2 separate regions of the Homo sapiens genome follow, and region 1 is linked to region 2. The links are contacts of gene promoters, found by promoter capture Hi-C in human tissues and cell types (Jung and others, 2019). All regions are on one chromosome and are shown on one strand. The core of a region is centred on a gene start or on the middle of the fragment in contact, and the rest is flanking DNA. Distances in the headings are between cores, read along the strand shown. Region 1 overlaps ENTPD6 (ectonucleoside triphosphate diphosphohydrolase 6). Region 2 holds the start of CST7 (cystatin F).

The links. Contacts are between HindIII fragments. The study calls those that stand out against the background at their distance.
Region 1: a contact is called between a fragment that was not itself captured here and the fragment with the promoter of CST7 in region 2, in 2 of the 25 tissues and cell types used here (pancreas and thymus).

Annotation. Positions count from the first base shown.
Region 1 is chr20:25,202,733-25,207,635 of GRCh38, forward strand. It overlaps ENTPD6 (ectonucleoside triphosphate diphosphohydrolase 6), which reads left to right. Exons shown (of 15, transcript NM_001247.5): 2 at 3,790-3,858; 3 at 4,344-4,665. The coding sequence starts at 3,805. Among named protein-coding and RNA genes, the nearest start is that of ENTPD6, 9.5 kb to the left of the region's middle. The HindIII fragment of the contact is 3,524 bases long and covers 1,467-4,903 here.
Region 2 is chr20:24,945,883-24,950,577 of GRCh38, forward strand. It overlaps CST7 (cystatin F), which reads left to right and starts at 3,387. Exons shown (of 4, transcript NM_003650.4): 1 at 3,387-3,693. The coding sequence starts at 3,624. RefSeq lists an enhancer at 3,053-3,102. The HindIII fragment of the contact is 14,192 bases long and covers 1-4,695 here.

The DNA of each region.
Region 1 (4,903 bases), core at 1,979-4,478, 260 kb after region 2:
CCATTAACATAAACCTGTAATTATTTTTATGCATATATCTTTTAAATCCTGAAGAAAATATTAAGTAGTGTTGCAGACCAATTGTACACTAATACTAGTTTCTATATTTGTCCCTCCATTTGCCTTTGCTGGAAATGTTTGTATTTTCTTACAGCTTTTAGCTGCTGTCTAGTGCCCTTTTGTTTTAACTTTCAGGACTCCCTTTAGTAGTCTGGTAGGGCAGATCTAGTGGCAATGAACACGCACATCTTTTATTAATCTGGAAGTGTCTTAATTTCTCCCTCATTTGTGAAGGACAGTTTTGCTGAATGTAGAATTCTCTGTTGACAGATTTTTTTGTTTGTTTGTTTTAGCAGTTTGGGGGTATCTTCCCACTGCCTCTGGCCTCTGAGGTTTCTGCTAAGACATTGGCTAACAGTGTTATTGAGGATTCTTTGTACATCATGAGCCATTCTTTTGCTGCTTTCAATATTCTGCCTTTGTCTTTACACAGTTTGATTATATTGTGTCTTCATGTTGGTCTCTTTGGGTTTATCTTACGTGGGGTTTACTGAGCTTCTTGGATGTTTATATTCATGTCTTTAGTCAAATTTGGGAGGTTTTTAGCTATTCTTTCTTCACATAATTTCTCTGCCCCATTCTCTCTTCTCTTTCTTAGATTTCCATAATGTGCATGGTGCACGTGAGGGAGGCCCCTAAGTCCCTGAGGCTCTGCTCACTTTCCTCATTCTTTTTGTTCCTCTGACTTGATATTTTCAAATGTGCTATGTTGAAGTTTGCTGATTCTTCTACCGACTCAAATCCCTCTGGTCAGAGTTTTCAGTTCAGTTTTGTATTTCTCAGCTCCACAATTTCTGTTTGATTCCTTTTTATAATTTCTCATTTTGTTGTCATATGTTATTTTCTTGATTTCTTTTCATTCTTTATCTGTTTTCCTTCAGCTCTTTTAGCATATTTAAGACAGTCATTTTTAGTCTTGGTCAAGTACATCCAGTGCCTGCATTTCTTCAGGGATGGGTTCTGCCACTTCATTTTCTTCCTCTGAATGAGCTGTGTTTTCCTGTTTCTTTGTATGCCGTGTGATTTTTTTGCTGAACATTGGGCATTTGAAAAACAGCTCCTTGTCCCAGTCTTTGAAGACTAACTCTGTATTGGGAATGGCCCCCACCAAATAGCAGGATCTGCCTAAGTGTGGGGATCAGCTCTGGATGAAGGCCAAAGTTTCCTCTGGTTTCTTCTGAGGATGCATCTTCCCTGGGCCTGTGTATGTGTTTTTTTCAATTTCCCCATATTCGTGGCTGTTTCAAAATCTCTTACTTTCATTATGAATACTTTCAAGCTTCCCTTTGGAATATACCAAGAAATGCATTTGGAGTAACCTTTGTTTTTCTATCATTGTAAATTTAGATTCTGGAATTGGGGTTTGGTGGTGTGATGTGTTGCTCACATGTGGCCAGAACTCCTGCTCCTAAAAGGACTTTGAGATCAAGGAACACATATTTAATCTCCCCTTTATGCCTTGGTTTTAGTTCCTCTTTCCAAGTTGAATAACCAATTTTTCATTGCTGTTTGGTTTAAGTTGGTGCTTTGAAGCTTAATCTCAGTACCCTTAACTCTGAATTATCGAATTTTGATAAAAATGTGTGCCCTTATTTTTTGGTAAGAGAAAGCAGGTCTTAATGTCTGCCGGAACACAATTTATTTGCCTTGTTGGCTCCATTAAACTTTTACAAAGCTTTATATATATATATATATATCTTACTTTCTCAAAGTCTCCCCCAGTCCCTCCTTGGGCCTCAGATGTTCTACTGTATTTCTCACCTGTCATTCTTGCCCCAGGTATGCGTGGGGCTATAGTCATCCTACAGCTTTGCCTAGCAGTGCCCATAACCATTTCCCTGACTTCCTATCTGGGCTCTGAGCTCAGAGTCAGGTGAAACAGAGATCTGTTCCTCAGGCAGCCCAAGACAGATTAGGATGTTGCAGAAAGGTCCGCTCTGCTCCCTCCAGTTCAAGGGAAGGAATTGGGAACCGGGCTGCCGCATTCATCAGGTGGTGCCATGCTGGGGAGGCCTGGGGCAGGGGTGAGTGAAACACCTCAGAGTTCCTGACATCCTGAATGTGGCTGCTTCTGGGCTGGGCATTCTCTTGGTTGCTGTAGATCGTTGCCTGTTTTGCAGAGCTCCTATGCAATATTTTAACCAGTCTCTAGTTGTTTTTAGTGTTTCTCTGTGGGGGAACAAGGGCCTTTGAGCTTCCTCTTTTGCCGTCTTGCTGTGTCCTCTCCCTGTTTATGGATTTTCTACAGGACTCTGTTGTGTGTCTGGTGACGTTATAGAAGGTGCGGGGGTAGAGGAGCAGCCTCTTCCATTCTAGAGAAGGGCTTGGATGCCATGCTGGGCAGCAGCAGCACAAGACAAGCTGAGTCCCTGCCCTGGGGGCTCATGGCCTAGTGGGGAGACACAGACCTACAGGAATCAGGTCTATGAATACTGGTTTCATCACTGCTGGTGGTGGGTAAAGGGAGCTCAGAGAGTGCGTGATGGGGCATGTGCAGGTTGGGGGCATCCGGGAAGGGGGTGGCAGTGACATTTCAGTGGAGGTTTCAGAATGAAGACACGGTGCCAGTGTGGTGGGACAAGTATTCTGGGAATGCGTATCAGTCTGTGCCAGGGGCCTGAGGCAGGGAGAGGCTGAGTTCTAGGGGCAGAAGAAGGCACTGTTCTCAGAGCACTGTGGGCAAGGACGAAAGAGGAGTGCGATGAAGCCACAGGGGCCAGCAGGGACAGGGGCCGGCAGGGACAGGCCCAGGCAGAGGCTGCAACATGATCCTGAGAGCTGTGGGAAGCCCCCGAGTGTGGTGGGACCCAGGCCCAGAATAGGGCTGGGGAGGGGCTGCACGTTGGCACCTGCCAGGAGAGGCTTTTTGCAGCCCTGCCCGTGGCAGATGCTCAGGGAAGGGTGGTTTTTCCTGTCTCCTGCTCCAGTGTGGGTGGCCAGGCCACTGGTGAGGCCTCTCCCCTCGGCACGGGGCACTGTGGCAGTGCTTGTCTTACCTCTCTGGGCCTGAGGATATCCAGCTGTGGCCACAGGCGGGACCTCAGGAAGGAGGGGCCAGGAATGGCCTGCTCCCCGTGCTTTGCCCCGCGGGCCCTGTCCTTCCGTTCTGCTGTGCCCAAACAGCCTCAGGTAGCGCAGGTCGCTGCGGGCTTGCTCCTTTGACTGCTACTGCCCCCTCCTCAGCAGTGCAGCCATGCTGTCCTTGGTTCCACAGAGATGTCACCTCCTGCTGCCCTTCTGTAAAGCCCGCATGTGGCACGTGCTTTCCCTGCAGCCTGTTCTGAGCACATTGAATCCCCACAGTCACGAGGGGCTCTCCAATGAGCAGCCCCACCTTGCAGATGAAACTGGCCCCCTTGAGGGGCATGTTGCCCACTGTCACACGTAGCTGCGGGCAGAGCCGGTGCCACTTCCAGCCCGGCATCCTCCTGATCCCTGCTCCCCTAGGAGTGGCCACTCACCAGGACCGACTGAGAGAGTGAGGGAGGGACAGGCTGATGGACGTTCCCCAAGGTTGGGGGCCCTAGAGTCGGCCCACACTTCTTGTCCTTTGAAGCCTCAGGTTCCCACATGCTGCCTCGCACTGGAGCAGCCAATGAAACTTGAACAAATGCTTTCATTTTGGGTATATCGAACCAAAAACAATGGCACCCAGTGAATTTATTTTGCTACTCTAGTAGAATTTTTGTAGGCTTTGGAAGTACACAGACATTATTTTCTCCTTGGCAGGAATGGGCTATGTGAATGAAAAAAGGTATCCGTTATGAAACTTCCAGAAAAACGAGCTACATTTTTCAGGTTTGTCTGGGGCTCTCAGTAGTTGCCCAAGGGACGGAGTTTAAACCTTTCGAAAAGTAAATTGCCTGAATAGAAGTATAACTGAGGATTGAAAGACTGAATCAGATACGCGCTTCTGTTCCCATGAACAGTTTGGGAACACCATTTACATGTGGCTTCTTTTACATAAATCGCCATGTGTCCCAAGCTGGTGGGACCCTCCCTTAGAGGAGCCAGCCACTGTGGTCTGTGCACCAGGTCAGCAGCTGCAATGTGTGCGACCTTGAGCAGGCTGTCCTGCCTTTATAAACCTCAGTTCCTCTTCTGTAGGATGGGGATCACACCTTCTGGAATAATTATGAGGCTCAAATGAAGCTTCTGATTCCTGGGGGGAACACGGAGCAGTTTCAGGTTGAACATTTTGTCCCTGGGCCTGGGGACGTCTGACTCTCCTTGGATCCTAGCACCCTAACGTGCTTTTCCTGCCTCTCCCCCCTTCCCACCAGCAGCCGCAGCACGGTCCTTGGCAAACAAGGATGAGAAAAATATCCAACCACGGGAGCCTGCGGGTGGCGAAGGTGGCATACCCCCTGGGGCTGTGTGTGGGCGTGTTCATCTATGTTGCCTACATCAAGTGGCACCGGGCCACCGCCACCCAGGCCTTCTTCAGCATCACCAGGGCAGCCCCGGGGGCCCGGTGGGGTCAGCAGGCCCACAGCCCCCTGGGGACAGCTGCAGACGGGCACGAGGTCTTCTACGGGATCATGTTTGATGCAGGAAGCACTGGCACCCGAGTACACGTCTTCCAGTTCACCCGGCCCCCCAGAGGTACCCGCCTCTCATGGCAGGGCTCTCGGGATCTCCTCCCCTGTGCTACAGTGTTGGCCGGGTCCCCTGCCACAGACTCACCTGGGAGCTTGTCTAAATGCAGTTTCCCAGAGATGCTGACGCTGGTATGGGCTGGGGTCCAAGCATCTGAATTTCCCGGGAGTCCCAGATCACTCTTACACTAGTGAGTGGTGACCATGCTGAAGGGCAGCTGAGACCTTGAGGTGTTTGGTGGCCT
Region 2 (4,695 bases), core at 2,137-4,636:
CAAATTCAAAAGCTAGCAGAAGACAAGAAATAACTAAGATCAGAGCAGAACTGAAAGTGATAGAGACATGAAAAACCTTTCAAAAAATCAATGAATCAAGGAGCTGGTGTTTTGAAGAGATCAACAAAATAGATAGACCACTAGCAAGACTAATAAAGAAGAAAAGAGAGAAGAATCAAATAGATGCAATAAAAAATGATAAAGGGGATATCACCAGTGATCCCATAGAAATACAAACTACCATCAGAGAATACTGTAAATGCCTCTAAACTAATAAACTAGAAAATCTAGAAGAAATGGGTAAATTCCTGGACACACACACCCTCCCAAGTCTAAACCAGGAAGAAGTCGAATCCCTGAATCGATCAATAACAAGTTCTGAAATTGAGGCAGTAATTAATAGCCTACCAACCAAAAAAAAGTCCAGGACCAGATGGATTCACAGCTGAATTCTACCAGAGGTACAAAGAGGCGCTGCTACCATTCCTTCTGAAACTATTCCAAACAAGAGAAAAAGAGGGAATCCTCCCTAACTCATTTTATGAGGCCAGCATCATCCTAATACCAAAACCTGGCAGAAACACAACAAAAAGAAAATTTCAGGCCAATATCCCTGATGTCCCATCAATGTGAAAATCCTCAATAAAATATGGCAAACTGAATCCAGCAGCACATCAAAACTTATCCACCATGATCAAGTCAGCTTCATACCTGGAATGCAAGGCTGGTTCAACATATGCAAATCAATAAACGTAATCCAGCATATAAACAGAACCAATGAGAAAAACCACATGATTATCTTAATAGATGCAGAAAAGGCCTTCAACAAAATTCAACACCCCTTCATGCTAAAAACTCTGAATAAAGTAGGTTTTGATGAACTGTATCTTAAAATAATAAGAGCTATTTATGACAAACCCACAGCCAATATCATACTGAATGGACAAAAACTTGAAGCATTCCCTTTGAAAACTGGCACAAGACTAGGATGCCCTCTCTCACCACTCCTATTCAACATAGTGTTGGAAGTTCTGGCCAGGGCAATTAGGCAGGAGAAGGAAATAAAGAGTATTCAAATAGGAAAAGAGGGAGTCAAATTGTCTCTGTTTGCAGATGACATGACTGTATATTTAGAAAACCCCATCATCTCAGCCCAAAATCTCCACAAGCTGATAAGCAACTTCAGCAAAGTCTCAGGATACAAAATCAATGTGCAAAAATCACAAACATTCCTATACACCAATAATAGACAAACAGAGAGTGAAATTATAAGTGAACTCCCATTCACAATTGCTACAAAGAGAATAAAATACCTAGGAATACAACTTACAAGGGATGTGAAGGACCTCTTCAAGGAGAACTACAAACCACTGTTCAAGGAAATAAGAGAGGATACAAATAAATGGAAAAACATTCCATGCTCATGGATAGGAAGAATCAATGTTGTGAAAATGGCCATACTGCCCAAAGTAATTTATAGATTCAGTGATATCCCCCATCAAGCTATCATTGACTTTCTTCACAGAATTGGAAAAAACTACTTTAAAGTTCATAGGGAACCAAAAAAGAGCCTGCATAGCCAAGACAATCCTAAGCAAAAAGAACAAAGCTGGAGGCATCATGCTATCTGACTTCAAACCATACTACAAGCCTACAGTAACCAAAACAGCATGGTACTGGTACCAAAACAGATATATAGACCAATGGAACAGAACAGAAGCCCAGAAATAACACCACACATCAACAACCACCTGATCTTTGACAAACCTGACTAAAACAACCAATGGGGAAAGGATTCCCTATTTAATAAATGGTGTTGGGAAAACTGGCTAGCCATTTGCAGAAAACTGAAACTGGACCCCTTCCTTACACCTTATACAAAAATTAACTCAACATGGATTAAGGACTTAAGACCTAAAACCATAAAAACCCTAGAAGAAAACCTAGGCAGTACCATTCAGGACATAGGCATGGGCAAAGACTTCATGACTAAAACACCAAAAGGAATAGCAACAAAAGCCAAAATTGATAAATGGGACCTAATTAAACTAATGAACTTCCACACAGCAAAAGAAACTGTCATCAGAGTGAACAGGCAACCTACAGAATGGGAGAAAATTTTTGCAATATATCCATTTGACAAAGAGCTAATGTCGAGAATCTACAAGGAACTTAAACAATTGACAAGAAAAAAACAACCCCATCAAAAATTGGGTGAAGGATATGAACAGACACTAAAAAGAAGACATTTATGCAGCCAAGAAACATATGAAAAAACGCTCATCATCACTGGTCATTAGAGAAATGCAAATCAAAACCACAATGAGGTACCATCTCATGCCAGTTAGAATGGTGATCGTTAAAAAGTCAGGAAGCAACAGATGCTGGAGAGGATGTGGAGAAATAGGAACGCTTTTACACTGTTGGTGGGAGTGTAAATTAGTTCAACCATTGTGGAAGACAGTGTGGTGATTCCTCAAGGATCTAGAACCAGAAATACCATTTGACCCAGCAATTTCATTACTGGGTATATACTCAAAAATCATTCTACTATAAAGACACATGCACACGTATGTTTACTGCAGCACTAGTCACAATAGCAAAGACTTGGAACCAACCCAAATGCCCATCAATGGTAGACTGGATAAAGAAAATGTGGCACATATACACCATGGAATACTATGCAGCCATAAAAAAGATGAGTTCATGTCCTTTGCAGGGACATGGATGAAGCTGGAAACCATCATTCTCAGCAAACTAACACAAGAACAGAAAACCAAACACCGCATGTTCTCATTCATAGGTGGGAGTTGAACAATGAGAACACATGGACACAGGGAGGGGAACATCACACACCAAGGACTATCTGGGGATCCGGGGCCAGGGGAGGGATAGCATTTGGAGAAATACCTAATGTAGATGATGGGTTGATGGGTGCAGCAAACCACCATGGCACGTGTATACCTATGTAACAAACCTGCATGTTCTGCACATGTACCCCAGAACTTAAGTAATTAAAAGAAAAAGGAAAATCAAGTGATTTTGCTTTTGAAAATTCCTGCTAATGTTTTTCATGCAACATCTCTTTCGTGTGTGGCTCAGGGGTAGAACATTGCATCAGGATTTGCTCATGGGTCTCATGTCTCTTCCTCCTCCCCCAGCAAATGACGGCTGCTCGGAAACTTTTATAAAGGAAGCGGTTGCTTTGTGGCTGATAGATCTGAAGGTGAAGAGCTTCTGGCCAAAATGATTCAGCAGCAAAACACTCCCCTCCCCAGCACCACGCAGGCAGCCCCCTAGCCCCGCCCCTGCCCCATCCCACAGTGGTTTGCAGGGTGGGGTTCCATGCTGTGGCCCTGGCACCTGCCCCTGGGCTGGGACAGCCCACTGTTCCATGCTGCCCAAGAAGGCTCAGCACAGGCACAAACCATTGCCCGGCACTGGCCCGTGCTGCCTGAGAAGGATTGGCACGGGCACAGACCACTGCCCCCACCTGCCCTGCGCCATCTACCCAAGAAGGCTCGGCACGGGCACCAACCACTGCCTCCAACTGCCCCATGCTGCCTGAGAAGGCACTGCACGGCCACCCCCAACTGCCCCGCACTGTCCCTACCCGGGCAGCCATGCGAGCGGCTGGAACTCTGCTGGCCTTCTGCTGCCTGGTCTTGAGCACCACTGGGGGCCCTTCCCCAGGTAAGTGGCGTTCTCCCCTGTCCGCTCCCCGGGGGTCTCTCCCTGAGATTGGCCACTGGTGCCTTGGGTCTTCCCCAGGGCACTTTCCTAGCTTGGAGCCCCCACAGGACCATGCGGTGGTGAGAGGTGCTGGGAGTGGTGAGAGGGGCAAGGGGCTCCATCTGGCTGCAGCTACCTTTGGGGGTAGCAGGCTACAGGGATGAAGGGTTTGGGGGCTGCCCCAGAAGGCTAGGGGCAAGGGAAGCATCTTCTATTCTCTGGCTCTTCACAGAGGTCTGAGAAAGGTCTAAGTAAGGCAGGTCTCCCGCAGCTCCTCTGCGGGACGGAGGCGACAGGGCAGCCACATGCCTGTGGTTAGCCGCTTCTATCTGATGGCTTGTCATTCCTTCCTGCTGGCTGTTGTCCTGTGACTTGGCTCCAGGGACCCTAACGATCAGACTCTTTCACCCTTCCTGAAATCCACTCCCTGAGGGTCAGCACTCAGGGGGAGGGGGGACAGGGAGGAAAGAGCCACTGCCTGTGCACTGGGAAACTGAGACACAGCCAGGCTAGGTGATTTGCCCAAGTCACACAGCCAGGGACAACCTGCTCTCCCCCAAAGGGAACTGGGCCATGGCCTCCCTGGCACAGGAATCAGACCAGGATACTGATGGGGACTTGGGAGGCCCCCACCTCATTTAACCAACCAGGAAGCTGGCACCAGAGGGCTGAGGTGACCCGCTCAAGTCATATGACCCCCACCCAGCAGACAGGGACAGAAGGGGGCTGGAGCCTGGCCAAAGGGGCCCAGGTGGGGGCTGTGCAGCAGGACCACTGACAAGAGGATGGCTCCAGAGCACCCAAGGGGTTCTTGGAGGGTTCTCACCTCCTCCTGGTGAGTCAGGATACTGAGGACTCAGTGATGCTGGGGGACACTGTGTCGAGCTCCCAGGCCTGGCCTAGGGCGGACGCTGCGACTGAGCAGCCAAGGGGACACGGCAGGCTGGAGGAGGGGCCGGGGGC